Linked DNA regions of Homo sapiens: regions 1 and 3 are each linked to region 2. The links are contacts of gene promoters, found by promoter capture Hi-C in blood cells and fetal thymus (Javierre and others, 2016). All regions are on one chromosome and are shown on one strand. The core of a region is centred on a gene start or on the middle of the fragment in contact, and the rest is flanking DNA. Distances in the headings are between cores, read along the strand shown.

Region 1 (4,412 bases), core at 5-2,504, 930 kb after region 2:
AGTGACAATTAAAACCAAGGACAAACAACACAGACCAAAGCAATGAGCCCTTCACTCTCTGAGCTTCCAGAGAGATCTTAGCATTGTGCATTCCTCTGAACAGGGCTGATGCTGGGCAATCCGAGGAAAGCTTGTTGTTAGCACATCTACTCTGTTTCCTTATGGTCTCTGGGTGTAGTCCTCCAACTAGCCATGGCCTGTCACACCAGGCTCCTCTCCTGCCCCTGTTCCACACTCCATCTCAGCGGTCCCTCCAGTGGAAGCTCATGAAGATAATTTGTTGGAATAAGAAGAAGAAAATAGTAAGTTGTTCATTTATGTTTTTTATATTCCTTTAAACTTATATTTGATGTATTTATTTTTAAATGAAGATAATATTTGATTACATTAATATTTGTATTTAACCCATGCATACACATATAAATATATTTGGGATATGTGCTCAAGTTTTTTTGAACTAATAGGGTGTGAAATCTGGAAAAAAAATTGAAGGTTAGAGTTCTATGCCATTCCTAAAGGGATACAAGGTGATAAGCACAAGTGCTTTCCAGGGCTGTGCCCATAGACAAATGCATACAGCCAAAGGACGCAGTGGAGAAAATGGAGAACTGAAGAGTTTATGCCCAGCCTCCAGCTGTTCAAAATCAAAAATAGTCTGAACATGTGTAATTATATTTTAATAAACATTTCCTGAGGAAGTCCAAGTGGCAGGCATCATTCAGCCCATGGGGAGCAGCAGGGTGAGCCCCCCACCCCATGCCTTCTGCTGATTTCCACTGGTCGCTACTAACGTGTTACCTTTGAAGTCAGTACTGAGCCCTAACCCAGATTTTCAGGGCATCTTGAGTAGGACTCTGGGCTGGGAGTCAGAATAACTGGATTGAAATCCTAGCTCTCTTCCTTACTCGTGTGACCTCTCATTCATTAAGTCAGTTAACTCAGAGATTAAGTTTTCCTCATCTCTTTATGGAATAATAATACTCACTTCAAAGTGTGTTGTGACATCTAAGTAAGATGATGTATTTGCAAGGGCTTCAATGACTTCCATGACTGTTGAATGTAATTCACTCACCCCTGTGGCAGCTTAGATGAGAGTAGTGATTGATTTATGGGGTAACACTAGTTGACGGTCTACTATGTGGAAGAGAAAGGAGAACTATTCTGTGTTATCCCAGGTGGAAGAATCCAAAATAAAGAAGAATTTGGGGAACAGAATGAAAACTCTGCACTATCTTGCCAAATATTGGATTCCCAATCACAGACATGTTCAAGTTGAGGTTATAAGTCTGGAAATTGTGTGAAGCAGGCTCAGATTTTGAATGAGAAGTTTGGAGTAAACAACTTTTACATTCCCTTCAAACACTCAAATTTTATCGTTCTAAGCCAAATAAAATGAGAACTAGTTAAAGAATAACATAACTTCCAGCAAATTCAGGCCCTCCTGCAGGTCAAGGGGAAAAAGAAAACTATCTGGGCACAGAGGTATCTTCAAATCACACAACTTAATTCATCTGCAAAGGACTTGAATCCACCTCGCGTATTTCCCTCAAGTACTTGCCATATAGAATAAGTTGTTTGACAATTCACTTAGCCTGTTGTCCAAGACTACTTGAATTATTCTACATACAGAGATGTGATACCAGGCGCTGCAGATGAATAAATCACATCAGCTATCGAAACCATATGCAACTCATTCACAAGTACGTTATCTTCAGCCCAGACCATGCCTTTGAGGGCCAGACCAATCTATTCAACCTATAACCTACCATCTCACTTCAACATTTCCTAAAATAAGTTTATCATCTTCCCCTTCCCCTCACCTTCTAGGCACCACTATTCATCTTTATTCCCTGCCCAGAAACCTAGGGGTCATCCTTGGCCCCACTTAGTCTTCTATTCCCCATATCCTGTGACTTTTCTTTATTATTATTATTTGAGACAGTCTCACTCTGTCGCCAGGCTGGAGTGCAGTGGCGCGATCTCGGCTCTTTGCAACCTCTGCCTCCCGAGTTCAAGCGATTCTCATACCTCAGCCTCCTGAGTAGCTGGGACTACAGGCACGCACCAACATGACCAGTTAATTTTTTCTTTTTTTGTATTTTTAGTAGAGACGGGGTTTCACCATGTTGGCCAGGATGGTCTCGATCTCCTGACCTCGTGATCCACCGGCCTCGGCCTCCCAAAGTGCTGGGATTACTTTTACATTCTAAATATCTCTTGAATATATCCACTCCTTTCTAGCTCTTTCATCACTACTACCTTAGACCAAGGTTTCGTCATCTGTTGCCTGGACCGCTATTACAGCCTTCAATGTCTTCCTCATCCACCCTTGCCCTCCTCCCATTGTTCGTTACCTGCATTTCCCTTCCCCTCTAAAACAAAGCTTCAGAATGAGCTACAAGTTGCTACAGTGTGTAGCTCTGACTCACCTCTCAGCCTTAGCGCTTTCCTGCTCACTTCACTCTAATGCCCTGTGAGTTCTTATTCATTCTTCAGATCACTACTTAAGCATCATTTCCTCAAGGAAATTTTCTGTGACCTCTCTGACCAGCTCAAATGTGTCTATGTTAAGCTCTTAGAGCAACATGTAGTAATTGTCACAGATGCAGTTGCATATTTGTGTCATTCTTTTTATTAATGTGTATTTCCCCCTGTAAACTATAAAACACATGAGGGCAGGAACAGTGGTGCTTTTTGCTCAGGGCCTGGAACATAGTAGGTCCTCAATCAATAAATAGTTAATAGCTAAACAGATCAATAAGTGATGAATGAAAGCAAGAATGAATAATATATATTCTTGTGCGAGTCACTTCATCTCTCCACGCTTCATTTTAACTCTGAAATTTGGAGGCAGGGGAGTGGGTAAGGAATGAACAGGAGAGGGAATTAGATGGCATCTAGAATAACTGTTCTAAAAATTTTTGGTTCCAAATGCAAAATGTACAAAAAAAAAATTCTGAAATAAAAGATCCAAAAGGAAAGTTGTGCTCATGCTGAGCTCACAAATACATGCCTTTTTCCCCCATAAATAGAACAAACAGATGCTATCTGCAAGGCCCACAGCACATCTGCGTGGATGAAGCAGCAGCACTCAAGTGTCCTGGGAAAGGAGTGATTTGCATGTTTGCTATCTGGTGTGCAGGAGCTCACACATTCTTTTCAGATAACACTGCAATGGCAACGTTCGGAGATTCAAGTTCTTCAAGTTCACCTTCAGTCCCCGTGCTAGAGAAATATTCATGCTTTTAAAAATAAAATAAAAAGAAAGAATTGCTGGCTGAAGGGCTTCTTCCCTCCCTGTCACTCCACTTCCTCAAGCTTTCACATTTCAGTGTTGTCAAGTTATCATGTATTAGCTAATCAAAACAAAGGGAATATGAGAAATGACTAAAAGTTTCATGACAAGTATGAAAACTGCCTGAAGGATGTGGTGGCACCAGCCATTCAAAAGACTCTACTTTTTTCTGAGAGCATAGGACTTTGATTTCCATACAGTATTTTCTTCTCAAGGATCTCAAAATCTCTCTTTTTAAGAATTTAAAAGGTTACTTGGTACGGAGTTTTCTTAAGCCAAGTAGACAAACTGAGGCATATAATGTACTTTCTTCTTTTCCTTTTTTTTTTTTTTTTTTTTTTTTTGAGACAGAGTTTCATTCTTGTTGCCCAGGCTGGAGCACAATGGCACAATCTCGGTTCACTGCAACCTCTGCCTCCTGGGTTCAAGCGATTCTCCTGCCTAGCCTCCCGAGTAGCTGGGATTCCAGGCGCATGCCACCACGCCCAGCTAATTTTTTGTATTTTTAGTAGAGATGGGGTTTTATCATGTTGGCCACGCTGGTCTCAAACTCCTGATCTCAGGTGATCCACCTGCCTCTACCTCCCAAAGTGCTGAGATTACAGGCATGAGCCACCGCGCCCGGCCCAGAATGTACTTTTTAAAAACAAGGCAGTAGCTGAAATAAATTGAAAGTGATTTCTTTATTCCCACAAGAGATAATGTAAGAAAAGAGGTGGTAATGGGAATTATTTGCCCTGGGAGCCCTGGCTGCAGTGCAGCTTAATCTAATTTGCATATGAAACTGGGAGTTCCTGGAATTACATTCCCATGTGGTCCCAACACTCAGCACCACTGACTACATGCTGCCTTGTTCATAGTAACTGGACATTAAGCTTAGGGAAAGCAGCAAAGTTCAGCCAGTCACTTAGAAAGACGGGCAAAGAGACTACTCTAAAATTGTGACATCTCCTTCAAGAACCTTCTGTAGTTACTGAAATAAACAAGGGAATACTGTATCTACTGACAGTTAAGCCAAAAAAGGAAAAAGTTAATGTTTCCTACTCAATATATTTTCTCCTTTCAAACTTCAGACAGCTTCACCCCACCACACCCAGCTACTTGTAACTGGTTCCAA
Region 2 (4,971 bases), core at 2,344-4,843:
TGTATATTAGAAAATAAAACATTTAATTACCATTATTTCTTTTGGAGTCAAAATATATTTATTTGCAGTGAAAGTTATTTATCTTGTTAATGAACTACAAAGATTTATATGACGCTACTCACAGGTTTCTAAAAGTTATTGGTAAAATTAAGTTAAAAGAAATATAAAGGAAATAATTTCATGAATAATGTTAATGACCTACAAATTTGTAGGGGAAAAAATGGGGTAAAAAAACATGCAGGAAAAAAAAACATGGGGGTGACTTTTCATATACTGGTTATCAAGAGGCTCAGCAAATTAAGCTCTGAGATGACTACGGTTGAGTAATTTATTGTCAAATATAATTGAGAATTGAAATTCACTTCTAGAACTGATTTTGTTAATCAAACTCATCATTTTTTTTTCTCTTCTGTGTCAAGTAGAAATCAAACAGTCCTAATGGAGTTCATATCTTATGGCATTATAGAAAGGCTTAGTTATGAAACTATCTTGTTATTGTTACTATTACATTGCCTGGCTCATATATATAAAGCATTTAGAGAGACTGTTCCAATAACTCTCATTTAATTGGTGAAAAAATTAAATATTGGTTTAGATACTTACCTAAATATTACTAGTTAAATTCAAAGTAAATGAGTCTGTATCTTTAAAACTACTTGGCAGTAATAATTTTTAAAAGTAGATTTTTATTGCTTTTCTTGAACTAACTAGTGTTCATACAACACAGGTAGTTTTATTTGTGCCTGGAATTAAGGAGTGAGACACATTTGTAAAATGTTCACAATCAACGCCTGTCCCATTTTAAAATCTCACAAGTTTTTCTTCATGATTAACACAATTCACAAAATAAGAAATGGTATTTGGTCATTCTCTGAGTTCAATCTGTGCTCTAGTAAATATAACTTGTGAGGAAAAAGTAAAAAGGTCAAGAGTCTAATTCATTTTCAGTTTTTAAAACTATATTTTAAAAAAGAATGATTTGGGTTAAAAATAAAGATGGCTTAGTTTTATCTCCCTTACAGTAAGTAGCAGAAACTTGAGCTGAAAACACATAGAAGCTGTACTCATTTCTATTCACAAAGAACTGTTCTACTGTCTGTCTGCAAATAAATCTCCTCAGTAAATAGCTCCAAGGTTGAGCTAAAGAATACTGTATGGATCAAAGAATTCATGTCTTCCTGTGTAAAGTGAACAGGCTGCAAGCTCGTTCGTTTGTCTAAAACAATTAGGGCTCGTACGAGAAGAAGGGGGCTGGAACAAATAAGTTACAGCTGATTTTACTCTGCAAAATATATAAGGGGTTTTCAAATTAATAACCATTCAGGGTCCCCAAACAGCCTAATCTTTGTCAATTGGTGCCAAATTATGCAAGGTGCTGCCAATTCTGGTTGTCTAACAAATCAAGACCAGTGTATGTTACTCCTCGGCTGAAGCCTGATTGATTCTGGTCATTATATGGGCTGATCTCATTTTCACACATGGAATCAATATGTGAGCCAGATGTTCATTTACAGAGAAGCACAGAAACGACTCATCTACACGCAACTTTATCCCGGACCACAGAGCACCACAGACCCAAAGTCTCTCGTCACCCATACAAAGCTTCACACAGTACAAAAATCTATAAAACATTCCGCTAATATTACTGTCAGCTGAATGACTTTTACAGTACTATATAAAGTTGACAGATAATACATGCCAGTCCTAATTTGAGATAGACCTTTTCTTTTGGGACCTCAACCATTGAACAAGCAAACAGATTGAGAAGTAACATTTATTACAACACATAAATCATTTTCTTACAACTATTATATAGGTCTGGCCCGAGGGTGAAGCTTCTGCCTAGGCTGAGAATCCTAATGTACTGCTTAAGTCACTAAATTGTACTGTCATTGCATGATTGGTGTGCAGAGAAGAGCTAATCTAGCTTTTCAGAAACAAGTTCTTATCAAGATAATTTTTGTTCTTTGTTCCTTGAAAAAAATGCTAACAACTTGCCTGTCTAAAATAAAAAAGCAGAACATAAAATAAAAAATCAGAACATTGGTGACTCTTGAATAGTAATGACCACCTTAACATGTTTATTTAAATTAAGCCAATGTGCCCAGTTCATGTAGAAATTTAGTTCATGTAGAAATTAGTGCATGTTCAAAATGAGAACAAAATCTGTGTTTACTACAAAGATATACAAAGAACTTTTCACTCTGAAGATAAAACTTGATGTATATCACAAATATAATGGAATCAATATTGATGGCACGAACTTTCCTTTGAGAAATAAACGCCATTTTAAAGATTGAACAAAGAATATTAATAGAGAATCATCATACACAGCTTCAAGAATTTCGCCATTCTTTTTAGAGTTGACTGAAATAAAAATTCTCTACATTTCCTGTCAAATATTGTCGTAGTACTGTCCTCAGCCGAGGAAACGAATGTGCACTTCATGATACAGTAAATTTCTCTAATGCTCCTCTAATAGCACCATGTTGGAAACACATGAGTTACCTAACATGGTGAGCTTATATTTTATATCAGTTTGCTTTCCTCGATCATCTGATCATCTTGGCCTCCGTGGAGTCTTCTAATTGCATTTAGTTCTGTTCAGTTCTGCTTGAGGATAATCCAAAGGATGTCTGTTTTTCATCAGGTAACGACCATTAAATTTGGCTGCATTTCCTTCTAAATCTTGTTGAATGGCATAAGAAACAGAAGCTAGAAAACCTTTCTCTTGTAACTTTGCTATGGTTTCTGAACCTAGACCTTTCTAGAATTTTTGCTCACTACTGCAAAACTCTGAGGCCAGATCCTTTTGGAAGTGAGTCTAAATGGTCTCTAAACTTTGATCTACTTTCCCTGGGGGTACTTAAGACTTTGGGGCATCTTTCTGCATACCCTGGAAACATTTGGACTCTATGTAAAGTTGCCAGATAATTTCTAAAATGTTTTGAATTGTGAGTTTATGTTTAGGCAGCATTTGGGGCTTTCCTTCTCTTGAATTAAACAAACATCTTGGCCAATCAAATACTCTCCCTTAAAAAAAATCTTAAAATTCCTCTCTGTGGCTCCTTATACTGTATTAGTGTGTAAGGCTGGAAAGAAATGTGTCAGATCATTTCTTTTTTCCTGTATGACAACAACCTAGAAAAGTAATGATAAATGGAGTCTACAAGGTGTTTTCCCTGAAGCCGAACTCCTTATCTCTTTAAAGAGGTATAAGAGTTCCTATTGGAGCAGGACCTATTCCAGGCAAAGCTGGGAATCACACTAGGCTTCTATTTATTCATTTAATCATCATTTATGGAACATCTGTTAAGTGCTAGGAATGTTATTAAGTGTTGAGGCTATGGAGACAGATAAAAAATAAATACCTGTCATTAATGAACTCACTGCCAAGTGTGGGGAAGGGTTTGGTGAATATCTCAGGAATAATCAGTGAGTGTGGCACATGGCAGGTGAAATATGTTAGTTTAGGCCAAATATTAAACCTAAAGAATCCAATTCAATTTTTGTTGGTATTGTCAATTTTCTAATCATCTGCAATGCAGTAAATGGTTCCTTCAAGACTAATTAATGTTCTTATCATTTTACAGAAAAGAAAAGTAACCAAACCAGAATTTGCACTAGGGAAGTTTGAAAGAAGTTGATCCATTTTGAGAAGAGAGTTACAGAAAACAAATAAGGAACCCATTGACGTCCTAGTAGGCTGAGCTCGACGTGAGTGATTCTTCGTTCTTTGGATTCTCTCTCACTCAATATCCAGTGTCTCATGGTGCCTTAGGAATTTTCCTTCCATCTGTGTTTTATCTTTGCCTTTATCTCCAATGCCTAGGCCACCACTCTGCTGTCCTGCCTGCTGTAGCTTTACCCTGGAAGTACTCATTCTTCAACAGGTTTCCAGAGGTCTCTTCCCGCTGACCTCCACCTTTCCTGCCAATATTGCAGTAGGATTAACCTGCATGAAACATTTTTCTCATTTGTAAACATCAATGGTTGAACCCTGATTAACAAGGAAAATTCAATTTCTTAGCTTTGTATTCAAGATTTTTACTTCCCTGACTCCAATTCTATTTCCTAAATGGAAAAATCTCCTGGATTCAAATTAGCCTCTGTGCATCCTCCTCCAGCATCCACATTTTACCCAGTACATCCCACTTATCTTAGGCTCAATTCAATCGTACATATCCTAAGTAACAGCAAACCAACCTGTGTCATACCCTTTGCTTTATTTTTAAAGAAACACTGGATCTGTATAGCCATATAAACATATATTCCAGACTTGGCTGGTTATGGACTTATCCTTTATAATGCATTTTCAGTGGCCAAAGAGCCTTTTAAGAGTTCTTAAAATTGTGCAGTTGCAGACACTGAACTGATTGATCACTCATGCCAGGGCTCAGGTCATCCTTCTATAATTCAGGCTTTACTCCAAAAACTATTAATCTGTTCTTCCTAAGCTATAAATCTTAAGCTATCTATTAATAAAAGTCAGTTCTCTGGGGCTTCGTCTGTTAGACCCCCAAAAGAACATCGAACTTCTAACAATGACACTGTTTCTCAATCGTCAATTTCTTATTGAAAGAGATTTTCATTAAGATTGAAAATCTTTGGCATTGAGTCATGTTTCATCTTTGACCTTGGCTTTTCCCAATGTATTTCACATCCTGAAAATAAGCACCTTCTTTTACTTTTTTGCACAGCTCAACAAGTCAATTTGGAATTCAACACAGATGTCACGTTGCTTTATTTGTCAATATTAGATGATTCTTCTTGCCATACTGAAGCGTTTTGTGGAAGGCTATCTATCCTTTATCTCCATTTTGAATGCCAAGGTTATCAGAATTAGTTCCAGACACAGATATTAGAAAGCTTCATTCAACTGAAGAAATAAATGTAAAGAATTTTCAGGATGTAGTAAAGCAATACTTCATCACTAATTCATGCGCTTGTCTCAAGGACTATTAGTCTTAT
Region 3 (5,030 bases), core at 1,664-4,163, 950 kb after region 2:
ACTTTGCATATAACAGCATTTTGTGCTGCTTAAAGGAAATCTAGAACAATTTAAGAAGCCCTTTTAAAAATCAATTCCAATGAAGGACAAAGCAAATAAAAATGAAGCCATACACATTCATCTGAGAAAGAAATATTGCAGCTGTATTTCTGAATGTTATTAAATTTTACTTATTTCAGTCTTGCGTTATCTAGTTATTAAATATGCAACATTTTCCCTGCTAAATCTTTTCTAATGTAGGCACTTCAGGTTTGACTACCTCATCCAATTTTTATGATTATGTTTTTGCATTTACCTTTCAGTATTACTGAAACTCCATACTACCACCCACCCCAGCCGATATGGAAACTTTTTAAAATAAAATAAAGGAGTAAAATTCAGGAAAGTTATGGCCAAGGTAATTTCTCATTGGTTCTGTCTTCTCTAGGACCAGGCAGGGGAGGCAATAAAGAAGTGCCGTTGCGGCAAAGGAAAATTAAGAATACCAAAACGGTCGTTATTTAAAAGTTCATATTTTGTGAGTTGTAAAATGTTTGCATTAATTTTGAATATTACATTAAAGTATTATTTATCTTGCTTATGGAGTTTTTTGGCACACCTTTAATTTTGTGCCTGAATCCCAGTCTTGGTTCTCCTTGAAGGACAAGGAGACAGTCACATAGACTGACACAGCAGAGAGTTCACAGGTAGATGTAATGTGACTCTTTACATTGGGGTGTTGAGAATTCTGCAGCCTACATATCTCTGTGTATTGTTGATGAAGATATCCCAAACAAGAAGGTTAATGTGATTCATTTCTCAGGAATCTTGGAGGCCCTTGAAAACTGTATGAGTCTGCAGGTTGTTGCTAGAAGTAAATCAAGGTCACCAGACTAAAGAGGTGCCCTCTTAACGAAACCAGAGCCTCAACCCAGAGTGCCTGTGTGCCCTACCTTGGGAAGCAAACTGACATTTAATTTAATTCAACAACATCCCCACTAATCCCCTCCCATGGGTCAGACACTGTACTTAGTGCTACTGATATAGCTGTGAACACGATAGTCTCAGCACCAATCCTCCAGAGTTCACAGCCTAGTGAAAAATTTTTAAAAATAATATGACACAGATGCACTATGATAAAAGTAGTAAAAGAAGGAGCTGGGCGCTATGGCTCAAGCCTATAATCCCAGCACTTTGGGAGGCTGAGGCAGGTGGATCACAAGGTCAGGAGATCGAGACCATCCTGGCTAACAAGGTGAAACCCCGTCTCTACTAAAAGTACAAAAAATTAGCCAGGTGTGGTGGCAGGCACCTGTAGTCCCAGCTACTTGGGAGGCTGAGGCAGGAGAATGGCTTGAACCCAGGAGGCGGAGCTTGCAGTGAGCCAAGATCGCCCCACTGCACTCCAGCCTGGCGACAGAGCAAGACTCCGTCAAAAAAAAAACAAAAACAGAAAAGGGCCCCAGCACAGAGGCAAAGGCTTCGGATCTTGAGAACACCCTCCAAGTGATGGCACAATAAATAAAAGGAATTACTAATAATACACAGGGGATCCCTCTACTCATGCATAAAGCTAGGATTCTAAGACCCTGAAAGTGTGTGTGGCTAAGACCTCCTGCAAAGCACAACTTGAAAACATACCTCCAAAAGTCTGCATTGTGCGTGTACTGCATGCCATCTCACACCCATCAGTAGGACATGTGCTTCGAGTTGTTTTCACAGTAGTAATTATGGCTCACACTCAGCTATCTACACCCTCTAGACTGGCTTCATTGGTGACCAAGGACTCACATTTGTTAAACAGCTGGACAAGAGCAGAGGTGCCAAGTCTTCTAACAAAACAATTTATCTCACTTCAAAACTAAAGCGTATTAGAAATCAAACCTTCATCCTCAGGTTCATTATCATCAATGTGGCTGCCAGTACTATCCTATCAGTTACTTCATTATGACGACTTTGAAGCAGTTTATTTAAGATTCATTGTTGCGGTCATAAGTTGAAAGGAGCTAGAGGAAGATGGAAGAGAGGATGGTCAAGAGAAGATTATTTACTTAATTCTCACCTTTGTGTGTGGGATATTATCCCACCAGGACTCTATGGATTTAGAGAAAAAGGCTGAGTTCATTGATATGAATCAATTTAACCTACAAGGAAGGTGAAATACCTAAGTCTGAGCCTATCTCCCACAAACTCTATCTTCACAAAGTGAAATCTAGGTCATTTATTTCTTGAACTCAATAGACACTGAAGCAGATGACCCTGTCATTCCCATCTCTCATATTCCCTTCCAGGTGGAGGACAATCATTGGCACAGTGCTCTTGGCTCCTCTCCATCCTCTCACTCCCTCCGCACTGACTGGTGAGTTTGGAATGAGAATGAAGACCTCTGTCACCTCCTCTAGGGAGCAAGCTCTTAGGAGGGAACACATGTTCTCTGGTCTTCTTGTGTGAAGCCAGTGCCGAGGCCAGTTGAAAGGATAAACCTGGCTCCTTGTGGAGTTGTCCAAGAGGAAGCCACAGACACATGCCTTAGTCTTCATTCTTGGTTCCATCAATCATAAAAGTGATATCTTGATCTCCACTTCTTTTACTGCTTGATTTTCTCTCTTAATTGGTTCAGCTCTTAAGCAGGGAAGATGGCTGCTATTTCTTGCCCTATGCCTCTATGACCCTCAAATTTTCCCTTAGCATCTAATCATTTAGACTGAATCAACCAGGTAACCAATTCTAGCAGTGTCACAATGAAATGCTGGAGCTGGAAAGAATCTTCAGAAGGCTTTGAAATCAATCTCCTCCCTTTCAATGTAATAAGGTATCATGCAATAGCACTAACTGGGCACTTAACATGTCCTCCTTTGCCCAGCAATTCTTTAACATACGTCATCTATTACCAATAGTCCCATTTTGTAGATGAAGAAAGTTTTCAAATTTGAAACAGGTCATATAACAATCAGTGGATGAAAGCCAGGTTTGTTTAAATGCAGAGACCCCTAGATTAATGTAGGTCATGAGTCTTTATGTCACCAGGTGGATGCTCACATTCTGCTTAAAGATCAAAGACAATAGTTGATTGAAGGAGCATTAGAGAGCAAGGTTCATAATGACACATTTACAAGTTCAAGGGTGACTAGAGCCTTGGGGCCAGCATGTCTTCACTAAAAGTCTTTCCCAGTCTGAGCATGACACTAAAACCCTGAAACTTGTCAGTATAAAGCATTGTTCCAGCAGTAAATGCAGGAAAAAAAATGTAAGCTCTGCTGGGCAGATTGACTAGGGAAATGTGGTGCTTCTATCAGAAGTTTGTACTTTTAAGATTCCCTTGTGTTTTAGTGGCACCAACACACAAAGGGAATGAGGCCATTTTGATCTCCAATAATGAGAAACATGGCTGACTTTCAGACCTGAAACTATTTAACACAAGTTAATTTTTCAAACAAATCTGGAATGAAATGAGGGAGAAAAAATAATCTTATGATGGGAGACATCAACTAATGGATTACATTTCTTTCTTCTCAATTAGAAATGGCAGAGGGGTTTTCATTATTTTTCCTTAGCATCAAAACATATCTACACAAAAACACAGCAAATATGTTATAAACTTATTTAAGCCAAAGAGCTCGTCAACACTGTTTGCAATTATGAAATCATTTGGGGATATGGTATTTTTTTGGAAGGAATTGTTTTTCTCTTAGATGCAAACCACATCACAGCCCGTCAGACATAAATCTTTTATTGTATCTTCAAGAGCAAAAATGTAAATTGTGCAACAAAGGCGCCACTGATAAAATGCAACTAGTCCCCCAGAATCATCTGGGTGATCTCATTATTTAGGGGAGATAACAGGAAATGTCATGCTTTTAAAAATGCTCTTTTGGGGGAAAGAATGTTGAAATTAAATGCTGCCTAAGGAATTCCAAAGAAGAATTATTGGGAACTCTAGCTCCCCAATGCCATATGTTATCACAAGCACGAAAGGAAAAGGAGGCTTTTTTACAGACTTCTTTGTCATTCGGTGAGCAATGAAGGGCTTGGTAGAGATGTAATAAAGCAATATAATACACTTGATAAGAGCACAGCTTCAGAAGCCAAACTACCTGCATCTTTCTTCAGGCCCTGCCACTTAACAACTGTATAATCTAACCTATCTGTTCTTCAGTTTCTTTGCCTAAAACTGGGGAAAAGAACAAGAGACCAACTATTCTTATTAAATGATATAAATGTAAAACTTAAATATATATTCTGTAGATGTTTATTATCATCATAATTATCACCATCATTATTATCATTATGTAAGTTTTCAGCAGGAATATACGACAGAATATTAGACTTAAGTCATAGTCTAGAAGTGGTGCAGGGTCAGATAAGAGCGTCCGAAATAGGAATTTACACACTCAAAAACCAGAGCCAGAAAACCAAAAAGAAGAATAAAATGAGCTAGGAACTCAAAGGGCAATTTGGGTCATGAAGAAAAGTCCAAGGATGACAACTTCAGAACGGTGTCTATGGTTCAACTATTGTTTCTGATTCAACCTTATCATACCAGAGATATGTCATAGAATCATTCTTCCTTTGTCATCTTCATCTAATCAATTACCTGTCCCTTACCTTATTCTGGGTTCTGAAATCCTTATCTTCAGTTAATATAGAGAACACAGACCCCAGCCATGATGGACTTGGATTCAGCAGCATGTCCCCAGTTCCTGAGAGGCATGGCAAAGGGGTGATTACAAGACAAGGGCCAACATTGGGGTAAAAGGCAAATATTTTCTCACAGGAAGAAACAAAAGCTCAGAGTCTGAATCCAAGAAGATAGTCACTGTCAAATCCACAACAACTTTATGTTCATGGAGTTGATGATGATTTTACCCGGGAATTATTTTTAAAAGTCAATTTTGAGGCTTCATATGAATCACAATCCTTGGAGATGAGTTTAGAAATCTGAAAAATGTTTCCCAGGATATTTTCATACACATTAAACTTTGAGGACAACTGGACTAGAAGCTGAGCTGCTCTAGGGCACGAGATCTCAGGAAATGTAGCAGGATCAATCA

What was found. Contacts are between HindIII fragments. The CHiCAGO score rates a contact against its expected background, and 5 or more counts as called.
Region 1: a contact is called between a fragment that was not itself captured here and the fragment with the promoter of TRPS1-AS1 in region 2, in 1 of 17 cell types (M0 macrophages). The highest score is 5.4, in M0 macrophages.
Region 3: a fragment that was not itself captured here is called in contact with the fragment with the promoter of TRPS1-AS1 in region 2 in 1 of 17 cell types (M2 macrophages); the score reaches 5.1 in M2 macrophages.

Annotation. Positions count from the first base shown.
Region 1 is chr8:116,440,228-116,444,639 of GRCh38, forward strand. All of the region lies in intron 2 of LOC102723447 (a long non-coding RNA gene), which reads right to left. Among named protein-coding and RNA genes, the nearest start is that of LINC00536, 120 kb to the left of the region's middle. The HindIII fragment of the contact is 2,253 bases long and covers 129-2,381 here.
Region 2 is chr8:115,506,010-115,510,980 of GRCh38, forward strand. It overlaps TRPS1-AS1 (TRPS1 antisense RNA 1), which reads left to right and starts at 3,594. Exons shown (of 2, transcript NR_186605.1): 1 at 3,594-3,717. All of the region lies in intron 5 of TRPS1 (transcriptional repressor GATA binding 1), which reads right to left. The HindIII fragment of the contact is 3,034 bases long and covers 1,834-4,867 here.
Region 3 is chr8:116,454,915-116,459,944 of GRCh38, forward strand. It overlaps LOC105375711 (a long non-coding RNA gene), which reads left to right. Exons shown (of 3, transcript XR_928551.3): 2 at 2,271-2,338. Among named protein-coding and RNA genes, the nearest start is that of LINC00536, 130 kb to the left of the region's middle. The HindIII fragment of the contact is 7,245 bases long and covers 1-5,030 here.